Regions from separate parts of the Homo sapiens genome. Here region 1 is linked to region 2. Evidence: promoter capture Hi-C in human tissues and cell types (Jung and others, 2019). All regions are on one chromosome and are shown on one strand. The core of a region is centred on a gene start or on the middle of the fragment in contact, and the rest is flanking DNA. Distances in the headings are between cores, read along the strand shown.

Region 1 (6,497 bases), core at 1,887-4,386, 840 kb after region 2:
GTCCAAACTGCCAATCCACACAAACATAAAATATTGTTGTTTTAAGCCACTATATTGTGGGGTGATTTTGTTAAGCAGCAATAGAAAGCAAATACACTTAGGTTCTTAGTGCATGATTAAAACTTTTGCCTGTAATTCTAGCACTTTGGGAGGCCAAGGCAGGGGAACTGCTTGAGCCTAGGAGTTCAAGACCAGCCCTGGCAACATAGCAAGACCCCATCTGTACAATAATAATAATAGTAATAATAATACTACTAAATTAAAAATGAGCCAGGCATGGTGGTGCATGTCTGTAGTCCTAGCTACTCAGGAGGCTAAGGTGGGAGGATCGCTTAAGCACAGGAGTTCAAGGTTATAATGAGCTGTGATCATGCCACTGCACTCCAGCCTGGACAACAGAGCAAGATCCTGTCTCAAAAGAGAGAGAGAGAGAGAGAGTCACTCTAATGGCCCAGGTTGAAATGCAAGCTCCATCTCCGGCATGTGACCTTGGGCATGGCCTGTGATCTCTGTGAACCTGAGTCTCCTCATCTGTACGGTGAGATACTTTTGGTTTCTACCTCATCAGGTTGACATGAGGATTAAGTGAGATGATGAACATTCAGTGTGTGGCACAGTGCAAGTACTCTCAACATCTTAACTCTTGCTTCTGCTGCTGTTGTTTGCAGAAAGACTAGCCTGAGAGGTGTGATGTGGGGGATCAGAGACAGTAAGAGTTAAGGATAAATGTTAAGTCTACAACTAGGTGAACACTTGGGATGGGAAGCCTCTTGAGACCGGAGACCTACATGAGGCTGGCGTAGTAGACGGCAGGAGTTGGGTTTCAATTATGTCCTGCATGAGTATGAGGGTTGTATATGTGTGCCCAGGTGAGCCCTCTGAATGAAGTCATGGATAGAGGCCAGAACTAGGAAGAAGAATGAAGAACTAATGCTGTGAGAGAGGCTGAGATTGGAAAGGCATGAAGGCTAAGCAATGGGAAATATCCTCACTACACTCAGATGAAAACCCAGCTTCCTTATCATGACCTGAATGCCCTGCCCACCTCTCCCACCATATTTCTTCCTCTTCTTCCCTTTATTTGCAGTGCTTCAGCCACCATGGCCTCCTTCTTCAAACTTGTGATGCTCTTTCCTGCCTTGGGACGTTTGCACTTACTGTTTCCTTCTCAAAGGGACCTTCTGAACCACTCAAGCTAAAGCTCTATACTTCACAGCTACTTATCTTTTCCTTTCGTAGCACTTATTGCTACCTGAAATTACTTTGTTTATGCATTTGTTTACCTGTGCATTACTTGCTTCTCACTTTAGAAGGTAAGCTCCACCAGTGAGCAACTGGTGTATGTCTTCCTCATAACACATCCCCAGTACCTAGCACAGTGTCTGGCTCATAGCAAATGATGAATTGTTGTGAGTTAAACAAATGTGAATACAGTTGGGAAAAACAAAGCCACAAGAGCCAAAAAGATACGTTCGAGAGGTAGGTAGAAGGGTATCATTTCCTGGAAGATGGCTTCCCAGAAACTTTGGGATTATCTTGTATAACCTCCTCAGTCCACAAGTGGGGAAATTGAGGCCCAGTTACAGGACACTGAGAGAAAAACTGTTGTGGGTTCCCAGGCAATTGGGATCAGATGTCACAAGCTGTCTAGCAGATGAGGTCCAGAGAAGGCCACAGCCACCTCCCTGAGGCCATCACTATAAGTCTGCAGCCACCACCAGCCCTAACCCCACATGGGGAAGAGGTGCCTCTTTGGGAGCAGAGGTGCTAGTCAGCTGACAAACTGTGAAGGCAGGGCTGTGGAGGGTGGAGAGGCCCATTCCTGAGACAACCAGCTATTCTGAGACAGTTAGGGATAATGGTTGGTACTGAAAGAACCTGGCCTCCTCACCCTCGTTCCAGTGCTCACACCTCTGTCCCACCAGAGGTGAGACTAATACTTGAACTCCTTTCAGCAACTCTTAGACGCTTCAGCTTTTATCAGGGCCTGCAAAGGAGAGGTTGATCATCAGATGGAGCCCTGTCCACTGGGGGCTCCCAGTCTGATGGAGGAGACAGACTGAGGTCCTCAGGTTACTGACTGATAGTGTCTGGGTTGGAGGGAGTTAAACAGAGAGGAGACCCCTAGAGGAAAGGATCCCTGAATTAGTTCAATCGGCATACAGAAATTATCCAGTCCATGAGGTGACAGTAAGAGAAGTAACTGCCAGTGTAAAGGGAGGGAGGCAACACAGCTAAGTTCCAGGAATTGTTTGCAGTCTTGTGGGTGGAATCTTCCGGAATTTGAGAAGAGAGTGGCAGAATAGGAGGCTGGAAAGGAGGGTTTGGCCAAATTATGGAGGACTCTGAATGTCAAGTGAAGAGTTTGGGCTATCTTTGGTGCATAAAGAGGTCCATGGGAGATTTTTGACCATAGGGAGACCATGATGAGCTCTGCATGGTAGAAAGTGCTTTGTGGCTGTTTTGGGGAGGTAGCTCGGGCAAGGAGAGCAGGGGTGGGAGGCAGATAGAAGGAAAAAAAAACACTGTATTTTGGACGCACAGCTCTTGGCAGGACTCCTGTAGGAGGAAGGAATTGGGCCTTGGTCTCTTGAGAGCTAGTATCCTCACTTCTCAGACTCCTGCGCCATGCCCTTCCTAGGGTCCAACTTTCATTCACTTCTTCCGAACTCCAAGTTTGAATAGAAAGTGTTGCTGAAACCCTAATTTAAAACGAGGGGTCAGAGCAAAAGAGACTTCAGCTCCCAGAATGCTTGGCTCTACAGCTCTGCAGGTCGCGCATGGTTCTTTTCAAGAAAGGGGGGCCAGCTGGGTGAAGTGTGGGAAACCTGGGTACCGCCATCTTAACTTGGGTCAAACCAACTGTTCACCTAATGGGAGGTTCGTGTTCTCTCTGTTGTCACTTGTTAACACTATTGAAATAAAATGCGCTTAACTATTGCAAGTCTCCTTATTCTGCTTTGCGTTGGGGATTCCTTCCATTTTGCACCCTAGGCCAGAACTGAATCCCTAAGGTTACAATAGGACATCCCAGCATGGCCGCATTCAGAGAGATTCCTCTGGGGGCGGAGTCGGAAGCTGTCTCGCCCCGCCTCCTGGTAGGAGGGGGTTTCCGCTTCCGGCAGCAGCGGCTGCAGCCTCGCTCTGGTCCCTGCGGCTGGCGGCCGAGCCGTGTGTCTCCTCCTCCATCGCCGCCATATTGTCTGTGTGAGCAGAGGGGAGAGCGGCCGCCGCCGCTGCCGCTTCCACCACAGGTACCTAGGGAGCAGCCAGGCGAGGTCGTTGGCGGGTGGGGTGGGCCCAGGATAGGGCAGCGGAGCGCGGCCGACCCTCACGCTTCCAGCAGACTCCTGAGCGGCCCGTCGCCTTCCCCTGCCCCCACCTTCACACATAAACCAAGCGAGGCCCCTGCAGCCCATCGGGGAGGCCCAGGGGCCACCCCTCAGGGCGGAGGGCGAGGTTTGGGGGCAGAGGCCGATGTGAGGGTGGGAACCGGCTGCCGGAGTCCAGCTTATTGCAGAGGAGAGGACTGAACTGGGTGGGGACTAGGGGACAACTTGGAGGAGGGGGTCGTCAGAGGGGGAAGGGAACTTGAGGGGTGGGGCCGCAGGGGGGTGCTGGGGGAGGGTGCGGAGGGAGTGGTGCCTGCTGGGTAGTGTGCAGTGAACCCTCCCGCGAAACTGGGCAGCTGGAGTAGGGGCCTTCTTAGGGTCCCTCTGGGCGGGGCTGAGCTTCCCACCTGCAGAGTGGGTGCGAGGTGGAGAGAACCCCAGGCGGGGTTGCTGGGGCGAAAGGGGGAAGGGACCAAGACGTGGGGCAGAACGTCTGGAGTTGGAGTTAAGGACTAGTTAGGAGCCTGGATAGAAAAAGAGGTATGGAGAGAAAGCTTGGCTAAGGGTATACATATGTTGGTGACCTTTTGAAAGAGTAGGACTTTTCAATTTTGTTTTTCGTTGTGTGTTTTTTGCAGTGTTGGAACATTGCTAGATTAAGCAGGTGATGGGTGGAGCTTCTGTAGTTTGTTTTGGGGAAGCAGAGTCAGGGTCAGGAGAAGTTGCATCTTGGCTATTGCTTTGTGTGGAGGAAAGAGTTTTGAAAAGAAGGTGGCAAATTATTTGGGAAGACTTGATTACTTTTCAGCTGTTTAATTCTACGAGAATGGGACATGGGGAGAGGAAATGAAAACTAAGAAGAGAGGCCGGGCGTGTGGCTCACGCCTGTAATCCCAGCACTCTGGGAGGCCGAGGCGGGTGGATCACGAGGTCAGGAGTTCGAGACCAGCCTGACCAACACGGTGAAACCCCGTCTGTACTAAAAATGCAAATATCAGCCGGGCTTGGTGGCGCGCGCCTGTAATCCCAGCTACTCGGGAGGCTAAGGCAGGAGAATCGCTTGAACCTGGGAGGCGGAGGTGGCAGTGAGCTGAGATCCGCCACTGCACTCCAGCCTGGGCGACAGAGCGAGACTCCGCCTCAAAAAGAAAAAAGAAAACTAAGAAGGGAAGATTTTTCCAAGAATTGGAGACTTCATTCCATCTGAGGAGTGCAGTGTAGGCCCAGTGGTTAAAAACCAGACTGCCTAGGTTCTCAAATATCAGGGCCATTGCTACTTAGCTGTGTGACCTAAACTCTCTAAGCCTCAGTTTTCCCGTCTGTAAAAGGGGGATGATGGTATTTTCTAGCTTGTGAGTTTACGGAGAAGAGTAAATAAGACAATTTGTGTCAAGTGCTTACTACAGTGTCTGGCAGGTAGTAAGTGTAGTAAGTAGCTTTTACCTGTCACTGTAAAGGGACTAGCTGGTATATTTGGGGCTCTTCTGTTCTAAGTAAAATTTATAGTCAAGAATTTGACTGTAGACAGGGCTTTAGAGTAGTATCTTTGTAGTTGTTGTAGGGTTTTGTTGTAAGTCATTTGGCTTTACTGGCTTGGTGGACCTGGGGCTGAAAGTCCAGTACCAATACTAGTTCTCCTCCGTGGTATTCTCAAAAGTTCACCTGCAGTCTTAGCAGGGCATGTTTTTGTCCTTCTGTGACTTTGAAATACTTGGCTTTGGTTTGCTATTGCGGGAGGGTGTATGACTTGAAGAAAGAATGCAAGATTGGAAATTTGCTTAGATTGATTAATCAACTGATTATACAGTTAGGTCCCCGTGAGGTGACTTTTCTTTAAAAATAAAAAAAAGCCTAGTTATGTACTCCTTTGTGGAATACAGAGAAGAGAAATACACATTTAAGGAGGAGCATGGGTTAGTTTCTAAGTAGTTATGGGTGAAGTGCCTTGCAATTTGAGGATGAAACAGGTGGCAACTCCTTTTCCATACTGCGCGTCCTTTTCCTACTCACTCATCCAGAGTGAGTCCTTGTTTTTACTATTGTCTCTATCTCTGAACATACATCTTTGTGTCACATAAGTAAAGACATATGTATGTATGTATATATACTTTACTTCACATAAGTAAAATATATACATCTTTACTTCACACTCTGTTAAAGAAAGGGATGATTTTCTTTAGGAAGTGAGTTTAAACCCTTCCATAGGACTTGGATTTGTAGTAGGCAGAATTACATCTCCCTCTTCCCAAGGTGCCATACCTTGATCCCCAGAATCTGTAGCTATCCTGTGTTACATGGCAAAAGGAACTTGGCAGGTGTAATTAAGGTTAAGAATCTTAAAATAGAAAAATTATCCTGGATTTTCTGGGTGGGCCGAATCTAGTCACTTAAGTCCTTAAAAGCAGAGAACTTTCTCCAACTGGGATCAGAGAAATGGGCAGAAAAGGAAATCAGAGATTTGAAGCATGAGAAGGACTCCATTTGCCTTTGCTAGAGAGGACCACATGGAAAGTTTATCAGAAGGAATGTGGGCAGCCTCTAGTGGCAAAGACCAGTCCCTGGCTGACAACCAGAAAGAAATGGGGACCTCAGTTGTGCAACCAGAAGGAACCTGAATTTGGTCAACAACCTGATTGAGCTTGGAAGTGAATTTCCCAGTTTCCACCAAGGAATGCAACCTTGAGACACCTTGATTTTTGGCCTCGTGAGACCCTAAGCAAAAGACCTAGCTAGCCAAGCCCACCCAACTTCTGACCTACAATAACTGTGAGATAACAAATTTGTGTTATTTTTAGCTACTACATTTGTGGTAATTTGTTATGGCAGCAGTAGAACACTAGTATAGATTTTGGTACCAGGAGTGGGGTACTATTACCTAAAAATGAAAGTGGCAGTAGATAAAGGTTAGAATTGTTTTGAGGGGCATGATAGAAAAGGCCTGGAACACAGGAGGATCGCTTGAGCCCAGGAAGTCAAGGCTGCAGTGAGCGGTAATGGCACCACTGCACTCCAGCCTGGGTGGCAGAGTGAGACCCTGTCAAAAAAGAAAAGGCCTAGGACATACTTTTAGTAGCAATATGGATGTTAATGACTCTGCTAGTGAGGGCCCAGACAGAAGTGAGGTCTTTCTTATTGGAAACTGGCAGAAAGGGGATCCTTGTTACA
Region 2 (6,568 bases), core at 359-2,858:
TGAGCAACAGCAGCAAGCCAGGCTCTAGGGACATGGCTAGTGAACTAAATAGACAAAGACCTGATCTGGTGGGGCTTTGCTTATGATGAGGAGACTGATAGTATGGCCATGGAGCACATCAGGTAGTAAGAAGCGCTGGAGAGATTAAAGCAGAGTGAGGGATGGGAAGGGAAGTTGGCTGCTTTTCGTGAGGGTGATTGGAAAAGGCCTCTGAAAAAAATGGCATTTTAACATTCACTCAAAGGACATTGGAGAGGGAGCTACAGGGCTGTCTAGAGTATCCAGGCAGAGGGAAGAGCTAGTGCAGGACCCTGAGGCTGGAGCCTGCTCGGTGCATTAGAGGAACAGTAAGAAGACCGGTGCGTTAGAGGAACAGGAAGTGGATTGTGTGAAAGGGTATGTGGCAGGAGATGAGGGGATGGTGGAGCCTCGTTGGTTTTTATAAAAACGTTGCCTTTTTCTAACTCAGGTGAGAGCCACTGGCTGGCTTGGCTTTTAATGCCCGCCCCCGCCCCCCCAACCCACGCTCCTTCTGGCTACTGTGTGGACAATGGGCTTTTGGGGGCAAAGGCAGAAACAGGACACTGGTTGTATCCCAGGTGTGTGGAGTGCCAGCTCAGGCAGTGGGCAGAAGTGGTGCCAGGTGGACAGTGATCCCCAAAGAGCATGTGGGTTCTTCGCTGTGTTCTGATCTTGACCCTGCCATACAACGGGCTATGAGAGCTTGAACAAATTGTCCCACAGTTCCCAGCTTCCACATGCTGTCTATAAAATGGGAGTAACGATGCCTGCTGTGAAGCAAATGCCTATCGAGACTACCCAGTTGTCTCCAAAGTGTTGCTCTTTTTTAAAACCACAGTTCCATTGAGCCTCACTCATCGCAGTTGTTATGTCTGTAATCTCAGTCTAGAAGAGTCCTTACGCTGTTTTTTTCTTAATAACTCTGATTTCTTCAAAGAGAGCAGGCTAGTTATAGAATACTCCACATCTGTCTTACTGTTTTCTCATGGTATTGTTTAACTTGTTCCCTGCCTTGATTTTCTGAACCGGATGTTTAATCTTTTAAGTGTCTGAATAGATTCCGTTTAAACATTTTAGTGTGAGTACTTCATCCTCAGCACACATGGGAAACATCACTAGTTGTGATGCTAAATTTGATCTTTTCTGTAAAGGTACATTTTTCCCTTTGCATTTAGCAGTGATCTGTGGAGTGCTTAGGTAGCCATAGATGGTCTCTTGCTCATCAGCCTTTCACCTAGTGGTGTTTACACCATCTGATCATTCTCCCCTGAAGAAGTCACTGGCATTCACAAAGTGTTGATTTTTAAAATTCCTTCATTCTTTCTAAATTTATTAGCTGTTATCCTTCTATAAGATAAGGTAAAGTAATTCTTTACCTTTAAATACCAAATTTTATTTTTATTTTTTGAGACAGTGTCTCTGTCACTCAGGCTGGAGTGCAGTGGCTTGATCATGGCTCACTGTAGCCTCGACCTCCCAGACTCCCATCCCGGCCTCCCATCCGGCCTTCTGAATAGTTGGGCATACAGGTGCATGCCACCTGTCCTAATTTTTGTATTTTTTGTAGAGACGGGTTTCGCCAGGTTTCCCAGGCTAGTCTCAAACTCCTGGCCTCAAGTGATCCACCCTCCTTAGCCTCCCAAAGTGCTGGTAGTACAGGCATGAGCCACCGTGCCCAGCCTTTAATTACCAATTTTTAAAATGAAAAATGAATGTTAACTGATGGGGTATTGCCATTCCCAGTGGGGGCAAGTGACTTTTTCCCCCTCTATTTGCTTTGACTGTACTGTGGGCTGAAATTTTTTGTCAGGGCCTTAAGATCAATGATACCCATTATTCTTTTTGATGCTAATATCATCCTAAATTTGGCCAGTAGGAGCCCTTTAAGCTGGCTCCAGTACCTTTTTGACAGGCTCCCACCATTCCTTCATCCATTTCTCGGTTTCACTACTCTGGTCCAATTATCAGCCATCTTTCAAAGAGCTCTGGTTCCTTTCAGTGGGGTCCATGACCTTTTTTTTTCTTGGTAACAGCTTTATTGAATATAATTTACATACCATAAATTCACCTATTTACTCATAGATGTTTTAACTAGAACATTTTTAGGCTTAAACTGATTTTTATGAATTACTGAGGGGTTTATTGTATCCATAAACTGGAAATCATTTGTCTGCCTTGGAATTTTCTCTAAAAATATTGTCACCTGCTGTTTCCCATGGAAGAAGCCAAGGTTATGAATAACTTAATCACATAGCATTCAGTTCTCCCTTTGGTGCTCATGGTGACATTTGTTTATTTTTACTTCTATTTTTTCTTCTGTTTTTTTGTTTTCTTTTCCTGCTAAAAAGCTTAACCAAGTCTCTGCATTCCCTCCCCTGGACCCCTTTGATTTTGACCAGGTGTATTCTAGCAGTGCAGAAAGTCGGGGAGGTAGAAATAACCAGTTCTTAGATGCTACTGTCTCTTTCTGTTACATTTGCTCTTCCTCTCCCAGGAGCTCAAGCCACCTTGGCCTGCATTCATTCCTCGAATGCTCCAAGCCTTTTCCCACATGGAGGTCTCTGCCCCTTTGCTTAGGTGCCACCACACTGCCCCCACTCCCCACTGCATGACAGGCTCTTTTCTTTATAGCACAGCTTAAGTAACACTTTGGATGCATACATGCATGCTTCTAATTCTGCAACAATGCACCCATCTATTTTCTTAGCCCCCATCATAGTCAGGATCCGTGTAGTTAAACATCTGCTCTTTCCCCAACCGACTGAAGGCTCCAGGAGGCCAGACCCACACTAGTGTTGTTCTCCAAGGTCTCCCCATCAGTCTTGGCATAGAGTAGCTATTCAGTGACTGTTTGAATGAGTGGCCAGTTAGGACCTGGCATTCCCTCGGTCACTCAGTGAATATATAAGGAGCTGGGCAAAGCCTCAATGTTGCCCTCAAGAAGCTTACCCTGTAGGGAGTGGTCAGTTACAATGAAAGTACCTCAGGCAACCTACACCTATAGGCTAGAACTTCTTGGAGGAAGTGCCATTTGGTCTTGGGTGTGTATGGTGCAGTCAGGCAGGAGGAAAGCGTCTTCCAGGTATATACACAGGCCAGGAGGAGAAAAGGGTACCTTTGATATTTCTGTAAGTACTTGATGAATGTCTGCTATGTACAAGACACTGTCCTGGCTACCAAGAATTTAGGAGTGAAGAAGACACAGTTCCTGCCTTCATCTCACACTGTAGTGGAAAAGACATAATAAATATGATTAATAAGCAAGACTGTTGTGTATAAGCTAGTAAGTGTTAAGGAGGGAATAGGAAAAGGTTGAGGTTTTAGATAGATTGGCAAAGGCCTCAATGAGAAAGTGACATTTGAGCAAAGACTTGAAGGAGGTAAGGATGTAACCTATGTGACTGTTTGAGCAAGATCATTTTAGGCAGAGAGAACAGCAAATGCAAAGGCCCACGGGTGGAGGTATCCCTGGTGTGTATGTAGAACATAAGGAAACAATGTTCTGGGACTGGAAAAGTACAAGAGTAATCAGAGGTGAAGTCAGAGGGATGGTGGTAGGGGCGGAGGCTTGACACTTCTTAGAGGGTCTTGTAGGCCATTTTAAGAGTTTTATCTCCTGAGATGGGGGAGTCACAGGAGTTTTTCAGCCGAGGGGTAGTAGGGTCTGGCTGCTGTGTCAGGTTTAGACTGTAGGAGAGCAAGAGCAGAAGCAGGGAGACCAGGGAGGGAGTTGTAATAATAGTCTGTAACAGAGGTCCAGAACTCATGCCTTTAACCATTATACCCTATAGAAAATGCATATTTCTACCACTTCCAGCTAGCTATTGTTAAGTGGTATTTCTTTTGATTTTTTTGGAGATGGAGTCTCACTCTGTCGCCCAGGCTGGAGTGCCCTGGTGCAATCTCGGCTCACTGCAACCTCTGCCTCCCGGGTTCAAGCAGTTCTCCTGCCTCAGCCTCCCAAGTAGCTGGGACTACAGGCGCACGCCACCATGCCCGGCTGATTTTTTGTATTTTAGTAGATACAGGGTTTCACCATGTTGCCCAGGCTGGTCTCAAACTCCGAAGCTCAGGCAGTCCACCTGCCTCAGCCTCCCAAAGTGCTAGGATTACAGGCGTGAGCCACTGCACCCGGCCTAGTGGTATTTCTTTCTCCCCCTCCCCATGCGATATAATGTGGTAGTAACTCCTCTTATTTATACTGTGATTAAAGTGGAAAATGGAGAGACACACCCACAGGGCATGCATTCTGGTCTGTGTTCTTTTTATTGCCGTTGGATCCTGCATATTCTTCCCATCATGGGCCCTGCCTTTGAAAATACACTTTTGGTTATAGGATCTAAAGGGATTTAGCCAAAGGTTAGAAGCATTTCCATACTGCGTATGGGAAATGTGCTTGCACTGTTGGTGATCTCAGGAAAATGATAGTGAGAGTGAGCTGGTTCCCTCTTTGGGTTGGCACTTGGACCTTTGGTCATACCCCTCACTCATAAGGAGTTCTCAGAACCCCACTTCAGGGAGGTTGTGCTGGAATACAGCCACAGAGACCCAGAAATGGAATAATAAGAATGTAAGATTTGAATTTGTATCTTTTGCCTATCTAAATGTAGAATCCCTTTTTACCCATCATGATTGAGACAAGTGGGTAGTTGGTATGCTAACATAAAAGTGACATGGCTTCTGTAAACATTTGATTTCAAACTCTAACATAAATCATTTGCTAAAGGACTATGTCTTTATCTTTGAGGATGGCTCTGCTAGTGGAGTTTCCCATCATAGTTCTTGCAAAAACCAATTTGACCTTTTTTAAAGTAGAGCAAAGAGTATTGTGAGAACATTTAAAAACCAAACCTTTCCAGATTTTTAAGATTTCTTTCTCTAAATGTAGTCTCCCATATGATTATTCACTAGCAATAGTTTTTTAGTGACTTGCCTTTATTGAGTCTTTCCCAGGAGTCAGCTAGAACCGCTGTTTGTATTCACACTCATTTTATTGATTTACATACTATTTAATTACATTATATTTACACAGTAAATATAGCTACCATAAATGGATTTGGGGACAAACACAGCTAACCACTCCTCCCTTTGTGAACACAGAACTCATATGGGAATGAAGAAGTGATCATGAGCTAGAGACTAAAGCATGAGGGGAGTGCTCTTCACTATGCTGGGGTACGAAGGCTGTGAGTTTTATGAGTCTCCAAGTAAGGCAGCTGAGTAAAAGGTGGTTAAGAGAACTTCTGTGTCTAATAAGAAGAGGGAAAGCAAACAGCTAAACCATTAGACCTTGAGCCATACGCCCATCTGGGAATGTTCTGAGTGGCTTCAAATGCAAAGCTGCAGAAAAATACTGGCTCCCCCTACCTCCACCCATTCAACCATTACACCTTTTTTTTTTTTTTTAAGAGACAGAGTCTCGTTCTGTTGCCCAGTCTGGAGTGTACTTGTGCGGTCATAGCTCACTGCAACCTCAAACCTCTGGGCTCAAGTGATCTCCCACTTGATCCACTCAAGTAGCTAGGACCATGTCTGGCTAAATTTTTTTTTTTTTTTTTTTAATTTTTTGCAGAAACAGGATTGGGGACATGAGTCTTGCTGTGTTGCCCAGGCTGGTTGCAAACTCATGCCAGTCTCAAACTCCTGGCCTCAAGTGATTCTCCTGCCTTGGCCTTCCAAAGCACTGGGATTACAGGCATGAGCCTCCTCCGCAGCTGGCCTCATTGTACTTTTTGTCATTAAGAAACTCACCTGCGTGTTGAAAGTAGAAATCCTTTTCCCTCTCCAAACTGTAAATGGCAAGGACTTTATTTTATTTTGAAGGTTTGGGGCTTAGGATATTCTGGTTTTTTGTTATGTTTGATTTTTGGTTTAGTTTAGTCATTTTTTTTTTTTTAATCTTAAAACTTCCCATATTTTGTCCCTGTAAAATGCTGCCTATAGGAAACACTCCTGCAAAGATTCATGAGCAACTATAAACTGCATTGTGAGTCATGAGCTTTCACTACAAGTAGTGAAGCCATAAGTCTGTAGAGGTGCCTTCTTCAGTCCTGTTACCCAGTAGAAGGTATATGGCACTCTGCCCTTCCCCAAAGCAGAGTGCCTTGGAAGTGACTCCATTTCTATTGGGTTATTAGTGAAATAGTATCCCAGTGGTCCTTGTGAATCTCCAGGTCCTGGTCTTGAGTCTTAACCACCGCTTCAGTGGCTTGAGCCAACCACCAGGAACACAGTCTGGGGATACTTTGCTGCCCAGGAGCTGCTGGCCAGGTCTCCCTCTGCTGATTCCTTGAAAAGCAACAGGAAAGAGCAGGCTGCTGTGGAGTAGACAGACTTGAGACTCTCTGCACCGTCTTGTTTTGTAAACCCTTTTGCTCCCTTTCCAAGGATTTCAGTTCAGGAGGAGACCCAGGCGAAGATGACGTCAACAGCCTCTGCATGCAGTCAGTCATAGCTTTGGCTTCTTTCATGGTCTTGTGCTTTTAACTGGAGCACATTTTCACATTTTTCTTACTGATTAGTAACTAAAGGTGCTTAAAGTAAAGTT

Evidence for each region. Contacts are between HindIII fragments. The study calls those that stand out against the background at their distance.
Region 1: a contact is called between the fragment with the promoter of CSNK2A1 here and a fragment that was not itself captured in region 2, in 1 of the 25 tissues and cell types used here (dorsolateral prefrontal cortex).

Annotation. Positions count from the first base shown.
Region 1 is chr20:540,429-546,925 of GRCh38, reverse strand. CSNK2A1 (casein kinase 2 alpha 1) reads left to right here and starts at 3,136. Exons shown (of 14, transcript NM_177559.3): 1 at 3,136-3,254. RefSeq lists enhancers at 2,671-2,730, 2,841-2,890, 3,001-3,080, 3,101-3,250, 2,736-3,429 and 1 more and a silencer at 3,571-3,630. The HindIII fragment of the contact is 15,109 bases long and covers 1-5,521 here.
Region 2 is chr20:1,382,698-1,389,265 of GRCh38, reverse strand. All of the region lies in intron 2 of FKBP1A (FKBP prolyl isomerase 1A), which reads left to right. The region is part of intron 2 of FKBP1A-SDCBP2 (FKBP1A-SDCBP2 readthrough (NMD candidate)); the gene reads left to right. Among named protein-coding and RNA genes, the nearest start is that of MIR6869, 7.0 kb to the left of the region's middle. The HindIII fragment of the contact is 7,512 bases long and covers 1-5,364 here.